2 separate regions of the Homo sapiens genome follow, and region 2 is linked to region 1. Evidence: promoter capture Hi-C in 16 types of primary human blood cells and fetal thymus (Javierre and others, 2016). All regions are on one chromosome and are shown on one strand. Each heading gives the region's core, a stretch centred on a gene start or on the middle of the fragment in contact. The rest is flanking DNA. Distances are from core to core; before and after follow the strand shown. Region 1 holds the start of TMEM179B (transmembrane protein 179B). Region 2 holds the start of RAB1B (RAB1B, member RAS oncogene family).

Region 1 (3,881 bases), core at 219-2,718:
GGAGAGGGCCTGCTGGGGAATCACACCGGCAGTGGCCAGAAGGATCAGAAAATAGGCAATGAATATAGAATGCAATGAGCTTCAGAGAAGCCTCACAAGTTATGGTCTCTGTGCAGAAACCTTAGAGTAAACCCAGGCCTTGTATATCCTTCAACAAATAACTATCTGTGAGGTGCTTTTTTTTTTTTTTTTTGCTGGAGTGCAGTGGCGCCATCTCGGCTCACTGCACGCTCTGCCTTCTGGGTTCATGCCATTCTCCTGCCTCAGCCTCCTGAGTAGCTGGGACTACAGGCACCCGCCACCATGCCTGGCTAATTGTTTGTATTTTTAGTAGAGACAGGGTTTCACCGTGTTGGCCAGGATGGTCTTGATCTCCTGACCTCGTGATCCGCCTGCCACGGCCTCCCAAAGTGCTGGGATTACAGGCGTGAGCCACCAGGCCCGGCCAGTGTTTTTGTTTTTGTTTTTGCGATGGAGATTCGCTCGTCACCCAGGCTGGAGTGCAATGGCACGATCTCGACTCACTGCAACCTCCGCCTCCCAGGTTCAAGCGATTCTCCTGCCTCAGCCTCCGAAGTAGCTGGGATTACAGGCATGAGCCACCACACCCGGCTAATTTTTGTATTTTTAGTAGAGACAGAGTTTTGCCATGTTGGCCAGGCTGGTCTCGAACTCCTGACCTCAAGTGATCCGCCTGCCTCAGCCTCCCAAAGTGCTGGGATTACAGGCGTGAGTCACCGCGCCCGGCGGATCTCTGAGGTTTTCTCATGGTGTAAAATAGGCACACTAGTGCCTACTTTATAGGCATTAAATGAACCCATGTTTATTAACCAGATTACCTGGCTGGGGTAAACGATGTAAATTATTGGCTTCTACCTTTACGTCAGCGTTTTCTCCATCTCTCATTTTGTCATTTAACACACTGTGCTACAATCATGTGGCAGCTTGATCATCTCCACTACACTATGCTTTATTTCTCGACAAAGCTCAGCACAAATGGCTTCTGATTTAACGGATGGACGCAGGTTCTGCACTGACTTCTGTTTCGGAACCACAGTAAGGCTGTGCAGCAGGAGCCACGAAACCCGACTCCACCTAGTGCTTTAAGACGCTACTGACCCGTCCCTTTGGCGAGGGGACAACTTCGAAGTATGACCTGGCCAGGAGGAGCCACAAAGCGCGATTAGCCTCGCTGCATTTCAGGTACAGGCCGGCGCCAGCCGTGCCTCACCAGGTCCACCGGCTCCGAGCAGCAGCAAGCCCGGTCGGAAAGCGAAAGTGGCCTCGCCATGTCCAGACCGGCCAGCTCCCCCGCCTACCTGACCCCGCCCCGCAGCCGCACCTGGGTCCGAGTCATCGCCGCGGCCGCCACGGCCCCGCACAGGAAGGCGGCAGCAAAGAGCGCAAGCTCGACGCGCTGCAGCCAGGACAGCGCCATGGCGCCCTGACCACCAGGAAGCGCCGCTGCAGCAGCACCCCGCCCAAAGCCCACCTTATCCGGCGCGACCCACGAAGGTGGAGACGTCATTTCCGGGGGCGGGATTTATTTACAAGGAACGAAGGGGCCACTGACTCAGAGCGGCAAGTACAGCGAGTAGTCCGAGAGCGCCCACCGGCGGGCGGGGCGGCTGGTACGGCCGATCATGGGCAGTTTCTGCACGTAGCGCGAGGCCGGGCTAGGCCCGTACGGCGCGGGGAAGGCAGTCTGGAAAAGGCGCCCGCGGCAGCGCCTCCCAGCCTGCCGCCCGGCTATGATGAAACGAAAGTGCGGGGCGCCGCGCGGGGCGAAACGGCTCTTCTGGAAAACGTCGCGGGTGCCGGTCCCGGGGCCCTGCTGCCGGGGTGCCCCGCGCGCCCGATGCACGCGCGGCAAGGGCCTGCTCTCAGAGGCGGCGGGCCCAGAGGCCGACGCGGGGCCGCCTCCGCCGCTGCCCCGGGGGCTCTCGTCGCCGTGCGGGCTGACTATGGCGCTTGCCGTCAGCTGCGGCATCTTCCGCACCGAGTCCGGGGCTGCCGCCGGCTCCTTCTTGTCCCCGGGCGGCCGCGGAGCCGTGGGTGCAGGCTGGCCGGTGCCAAAGCGTGTGGCCAAGCTGTCACCGAAGAAGGCGTAGAGCTCCCGGTAGATGTCGGCCAGGGTCACCGAAAGAGAAGGGTCCTCCGGCCCCGCGCCCCCTGGCGGCAGCGGGAGGCCGGACCCAAAGCTGGGTTCTGCACCGCCCCCGGAGGACGACTCTTGAAAGAGAAGGCTGTCCCATGGCAGGTCGTCCAGGCGCCGGCACCCCCTGCCACCTGGGCCACCCCTGTTGGGCTCTGCTGCCTGGGCCTTCATCTTCAGCAGTCGCTCTACCGCCACCTGTAAGAGCCAAGGACTAAGATAGGCAAAAAATTCGAGGAACCTGGGCCCATCAAATATTCCAAAGTAAGCCTGCTTGGCTGCTAAGCTCATGCAGGGAAGGGAGGCTGGAAGGGGACGGTACTCACCAGAATGGCTCCATAGACTTTGTGTCCATCTGCTTTGACCTGGGCATTAGATACTGAATAATCATCCAGCACAGCCTGCAAGTTTGTCCAGTAGGTGGACAGGTGTGGGTACAGGACTCGTTCTACTGCCTGGAAGGAAGAGAAGGAATACAGTTAGCATGTCTTTGATACTTATTCCCTCTCAAGGACCCTTTCCCATGAAAGACCTACCTTTATCTCTGATCCTAGACAGGGCTCAATCCTCCTAAATTCCCTGATTGGCATATTCAACCATATATTTATTTGGAACCTACTGTATACCTAAGCTAGGCATTGGGAATAAAGATAAGGTACAAAGGGAGACAATAAAAAATATACCCAATATCACTGCCCTGTGTGCTAAATAATGCTCATTACTGACAACTCCAAAATTTAGTTTGCATACTGCTACCCTATACAATCAGGCAAGTACTGGCTTCACTTAGATGTAAACTGAGACTCAGTTCAAACAATCTGCATAAAAACAACCAACCAGAGACTTGGACTCTGATTATACAATTTAAAATCCTGTGATTGGACAGGCGCTGTGGCTCACGCCTGTAATCCCAGCACTTTGGGAGGCCGAGGCCAGTGGATCACCTGAGGTCAGGAGTTCAAGACCAGCTTGGCCAAGATGGTGAAACCCCATCTCTACTAAAAATACAAAAATTAGCTGGGCGCAGTAGCAGTTGCCTGTAATCTCAACTACTTGGGAGGCTGAGGCAGGAGAATCACTTGAACTCGGGGGGCAGAGGTTGCAGTGAGCCGAGATCACACCACCGCACTCCACCCTGGGAAGCAAAGTGAGACTCCGTCTCAAAAAAAAAAAAAAGAATTAACTATAAGGAAAATACCAGCTGGGCCTATAAGGAAAATACCAGCCGGGCGCTGTGGCTCACGCCTGTAATCCCAGCACTTTGGGAGGCCAAGGCAGGCGGATCAGGAGGTCAGGAGTTCGAGACGAGCCCTGGCCAGCACAGTGAAACCCCGTCTCTACTAAAAATACAAAAAATTAGCCAGGTATGGTGGTGAGCGCCTGTAATCCCAGCTACTCGGGAGGCTGAAGCAGGAGAATCGCTTGAACCCAGGAGGCAGAGGTTGCAGTGAGCCGAGGTCGCGCCATTGCACTCCAGCCTGGGTGACAGTGTGAGACTCTGTCTCGAAAAAAAAAAAAAGGAAAGAAAATACCATGCCAGAATTTACAAAAGTCTACAGACACTCAAGAAAAAGATAGGCGAGGTGCAGTGCCTCACGCTTGTAATCCCAGCACTTTGGGAAGGCCAAAGGATCACTTAAACCAAGGAGTTTGAGACCAGCCTGGGCAATGTAGGAAGACCTCATCTCTATTAAATAAAAAAAGAAAAGAAAAAGATGATCTAAAT
Region 2 (3,853 bases), core at 956-3,455, 3.5 Mb before region 1:
TAGGAGCTATTTAGGGAATCCCCAGTACATGCCCTGCGTGTGCCTAGCTTGGCAGAGAAGGCCCCAGAAGTAGAAGCCAGGGCCCAGCCTAGAACCTATTAAGTTGAAAACCCACGTAGAGAGACTGATGGCTGGGTGCTGTGGCGTGTGCCTGTGGTTCCAGCTACTGGGGAGGCTGAAACAGGAGGAGGATCCTTGGAGCCTAGGAGTGTATGACCAGCCTGGGTGATGCAGCACAACCCCGTCTCTCTTTTCTTTTGTTTTTTCGAGACAGAGTCTCGCTCTCTCACCAGGCTGGAGTGCAGTGGCACGATCTCGGCTCACTGCAACGTCCGACTCCCTGGTTCAAGTGATTCTCCTGTCTCACCCTCCAGAGTGGCTGGGATTACAGGCATGCGCCACCATGACTAGCTAATTTTTGTATTTTTAGTAGAGACGGGATTTCACCATGTTGGCCAGGATGGTCTCGATCTCCTGACCTCGTGATCCACCCACCTCGGCCTCCCAAAGTCCTGGGATTACAGGCCTGAGCCACCGCACCCGGCTAACCCCATCTCTTTGGAGACAACAACAACAACAACAACAACAACAACAACAACAACAACAACAAAAACCTGTTATGAAGTCACCAGGAAGAGGTGGTCAAGTTGCAGTGAAAATTGCACTTAAGGCTGGGTGCAGTGACTGACACCTGTAATCCCAACACTTTGGAAGCCCGAGGCACGAGAATCATTTAAGCCCAGGAGTTTGAGATCAGGCTGGGAAACATATCGAGACCCTGTCTTTACAAAAAATTAAAAAATGTGCCAGGTGTGGTGGTGTGCCTCTGTATTCCCAGCTACTCAGGAGGACAAGGCAGGAGGACTGCTTCAGCCCAAGAGTTGGAGACTGCAGTGAGCCATCGTCACGCCACTGCACTCCAGCCTGGGTGACAGAGAGAGACCCTGTCTCAAAATAAAAAAAAAAAAAGGCAAAAGGTAATCACATTTAATATACTTGAGTTCCAACCTGTGGACGGACCCTGTGTGAAGTACTTTAAATGCATCATCTCATTTAATCTTCACAACAGTTCAATGAAGTCAGTTTTGTCATTGTCAACTAATGAGGAAACCAGAGGCCAGAGAAGGGAAGTGACTTGCCCTAACTTACACAGTTTATCGCTTTAAGACTCAAACCAGGTTTCTCAGACTCCAAAGTCCCTTCGAGAGCCTGCTGGTTCCCTTCTCTGTTCCCCTCCCAATCCAGCTCAGAGCTTCACCCTTCCCCAAGGAAATCTGAGACCTGGATGTGGAGTAGAAAAAGGAAGTGGCAGAAAAGGAAGAAGATAACTGATACTTGGGGAAAACTATTAGTCCTGGGCATGAGATGTGGGCCACCTACCCGCAGGGGGAGTGACCAAGAGTGAGGAGAGTTTGAGGACCAGAGAATCCCACAGGAAGGGGGAGAGCAAATTCCATATTCATCTAAACTTCACAGGCAGTGTGACAGCCAAGGGAAGGGGTGTGACGGTGGCGTTGGGGGCCTGAGCAAAAGCGAGGAGAGGGCGGGAAAGGACGGACCGGCGGGAGCGACAGGACAGCGCGACCCAGGCAAAGGGTAGGAGGCAGCCCCGGAAGAGAGGACCTGCGGGAGACGCGACCCAAGCGGCGCTTCGGGGCCTCCCGCGTAGTTGGCTAGCTTCTGGGCCGGCCCCAGGAGCCGGGCTTCAGGAGAAAGAGAAGGGTAGAGGGATTCACTGCCCGACCTAAAGGGCCCAAGCCTGAACCCGAGACCAGAAACTATCAAGACGGGCTCCAAAACTCCGGGACAGTTGTCAAGCAGCAGGTGGGGAAACTGAGGCCTGAAGTGACCGGGACTGCGGGGTCATCTGACCGATAAGGCCTGGTAGGACCGATGTCTCGAGCTCCAAGAGCTGCCCCTGGGGGTCGCCACGTCTGGGCCCCGGGTGCGAGGGCTCGGGGTTTTGAGCCGGGGTCCTGGGGCCCCTGGGGGGAGGGGCAGAACCCGGATGTGGGGGGGGGTCAGCGGAAGAGGGACCCGGATGTGGGGGCGCCGCACAGTCCTGACCCGGGCCAGACAACCCCGGTAAGCGTACAGCCCTGTATTCGGGATCGAGGCTGCGCTGGACGGCGCGGGCGGGGCTCACTCACTATTCGGGGTTCATGGCGGCGGCGGCGGCCCGCTCGGTCGCTCCCAGTCGACTCTGCTCCGCCTCCCGTTCCAAGATGGTGGCCGCTCCGCCCCAGAGGCCCCGCCCGCGACGCGCAGGCGCAAACGTCTTCTTCTCAGGCCTCGCCGCGCTGATTCCCGGAACTTGTAGTCTAAGACGTTCTCCAACTCAGCCCCGCTGCGCAGGCGTAGTCGGGGAGCCCGCGCCTCCGCGCCCACTCCCATCACTGCTGGCGCATTGCCTTCTGGGGCTTGTAGTTTGCACTCCGGACGCACTCAGGCTTGAGGACAGTGCTGGAAAGCCTGACCGCGACTCGGTGTTTAGAAAGCTCAATTTAGGGCTGGGCTTGGCACGTTTCACATCTGTCTGACGGAGGTAGTCATCCTTGCCCTCCCAATACCCACGTTGTGAACATTAAATGAGAATGTGGGTTCTAGTAAGACTAATAAAAGTACATTTGTCCAGGGTTCTTCGTGTACTGGGCAGTCCTAACTCGCAGCCGCGCGTCATCACCCGCATTTCATAGATGAAAAAACTGAGTCTCGGGAAACTCACTCAAGGTCAAAAACTTTGTGAGGAGCAGAGCTCATAAGAGCCCGCGGTCTCCAGAACCCCACAAGTGAGTGTTTTAGGGAAAGCCTGACTTGTGGGCCCCTCACGCAATTCCGGGGTGGGGCACAATATCTGGGCCCAGCTGCGCGGACAGCGGTTGAGCGAGACACACTGTCCCCCACTCACGCACGACCCTTCCCGGCTCCACCCCAGTCTAGAGACGCTGGGGGCCCCCGACCTCCGTCTCAAAACAAGCCCAGCTCAGATTTAAACCGTCTTTATTTCTACAGCAACATCTGAAAATATGAGAGCAGCCGCCTCACCCGCAACAGGGGGAGCCCCTCCTGCCACCAGGGGACCGTCGCCGCCCCTCGCGAGAAGCTGCAGGCGTGGGGGGAGGCGAGGCAGGATGGCTCGGTGGGCGGTGCCCGGGGCGGGGTCGGCCGTGCCTGGGCGGGGCCGGGTGGGAGGGGCAGTGCATAAGGCCGGGATGCGGGGCAGGGCCCGGCGGTGGGAGGACGGACTAAGGGGAGGTCCCCGTCCTGGGCCACGGGGCGATGGCGCGGGTAGGACGCATCCCTCAGAGGCCAGGAGGAGCGCGAGAAGGTCCCAGGACCCCCTTGGGAGGCGCCGCTCCCGAGAATGTAGAGCCTGGGAGATACCACCGCACGGAATGGGGGTGATTAAGGCCTGGGCGGTACCACTAGAAGAGGGACGAGGGGAGGCCCGGGTAGTACCGTGGACTGAAGGGAGGCGCGCGGCCAATAACTTATTTCTCTATATACAGAAGCAACGGCCGGGTTGAGTCGGGAGGGAGGGCGAGGGTGCCGAAGGGCCGGCGAGTGCTTAGTGTTCTTGGCTCTGGGGTCTGGGGAGGCCAGGCCACTGAGTCTATGGTGGAGACTCCAGCCGGCACCTCCTGCTGGCCCGAACCTAGGGAAGAGGGCCCTGCTGGAAGGAATAAATAAGGGATGGAGCTGGAGTGGGCAGGCCCAGCCTCCAGGGCTCAGGCTGAGATGACAAGGGAGAAGGTTACCCTGAGATTGAACAGAAAAGACAGGGGCTGTGGGAGAGACAGGCGGGACAAGCAGCAGGCCCATGCGCAGGGCTGGGGTGAGGGGGGTGTGCCAG

The links. Contacts are between HindIII fragments. The CHiCAGO score rates a contact against its expected background, and 5 or more counts as called.
Region 2: a contact is called between the fragment with the promoter of RAB1B here and the fragment with the promoter of TMEM179B in region 1, in 1 of 17 cell types (activated CD4 T cells). The highest score is 9.0, in activated CD4 T cells.

What each region holds. Positions count from the first base shown.
Region 1 is chr11:62,784,989-62,788,869 of GRCh38, reverse strand. TMEM179B (transmembrane protein 179B) reads right to left here and starts at 1,468. Exons shown (of 5, transcript NM_199337.3): 1 at 1,343-1,468. The coding sequence starts at 1,438. TAF6L (TATA-box binding protein associated factor 6 like) reads right to left here. Exons shown (of 11, transcript NM_006473.4): 10 at 2,482-2,610; 11 at 1,528-2,353. The coding sequence ends at 1,574. It also overlaps a transcript of TMEM223 not described here. RefSeq lists a silencer at 1,838-1,947 and an enhancer at 2,198-2,397. The HindIII fragment of the contact is 7,473 bases long and covers 1-3,881 here.
Region 2 is chr11:66,266,991-66,270,843 of GRCh38, reverse strand. RAB1B (RAB1B, member RAS oncogene family) reads right to left here and starts at 2,205. Exons shown (of 6, transcript NM_030981.3): 1 at 2,151-2,205. The coding sequence starts at 2,164. It overlaps KLC2 (kinesin light chain 2), which reads right to left. Exons shown (of 16, transcript NM_001318734.2): 16 at 2,984-3,853. It overlaps KLC2-AS2 (KLC2 antisense RNA 2), which reads left to right and starts at 2,433. Exons shown (of 3, transcript NR_186342.1): 1 at 2,433-2,545; 2 at 2,636-2,789; 3 at 3,013-3,295. RefSeq lists enhancers at 1,105-1,986, 2,147-2,476, 2,597-2,646, 2,947-2,996, 3,753-3,853 and silencers at 3,107-3,426, 3,447-3,496. The HindIII fragment of the contact is 6,329 bases long and covers 1-3,853 here.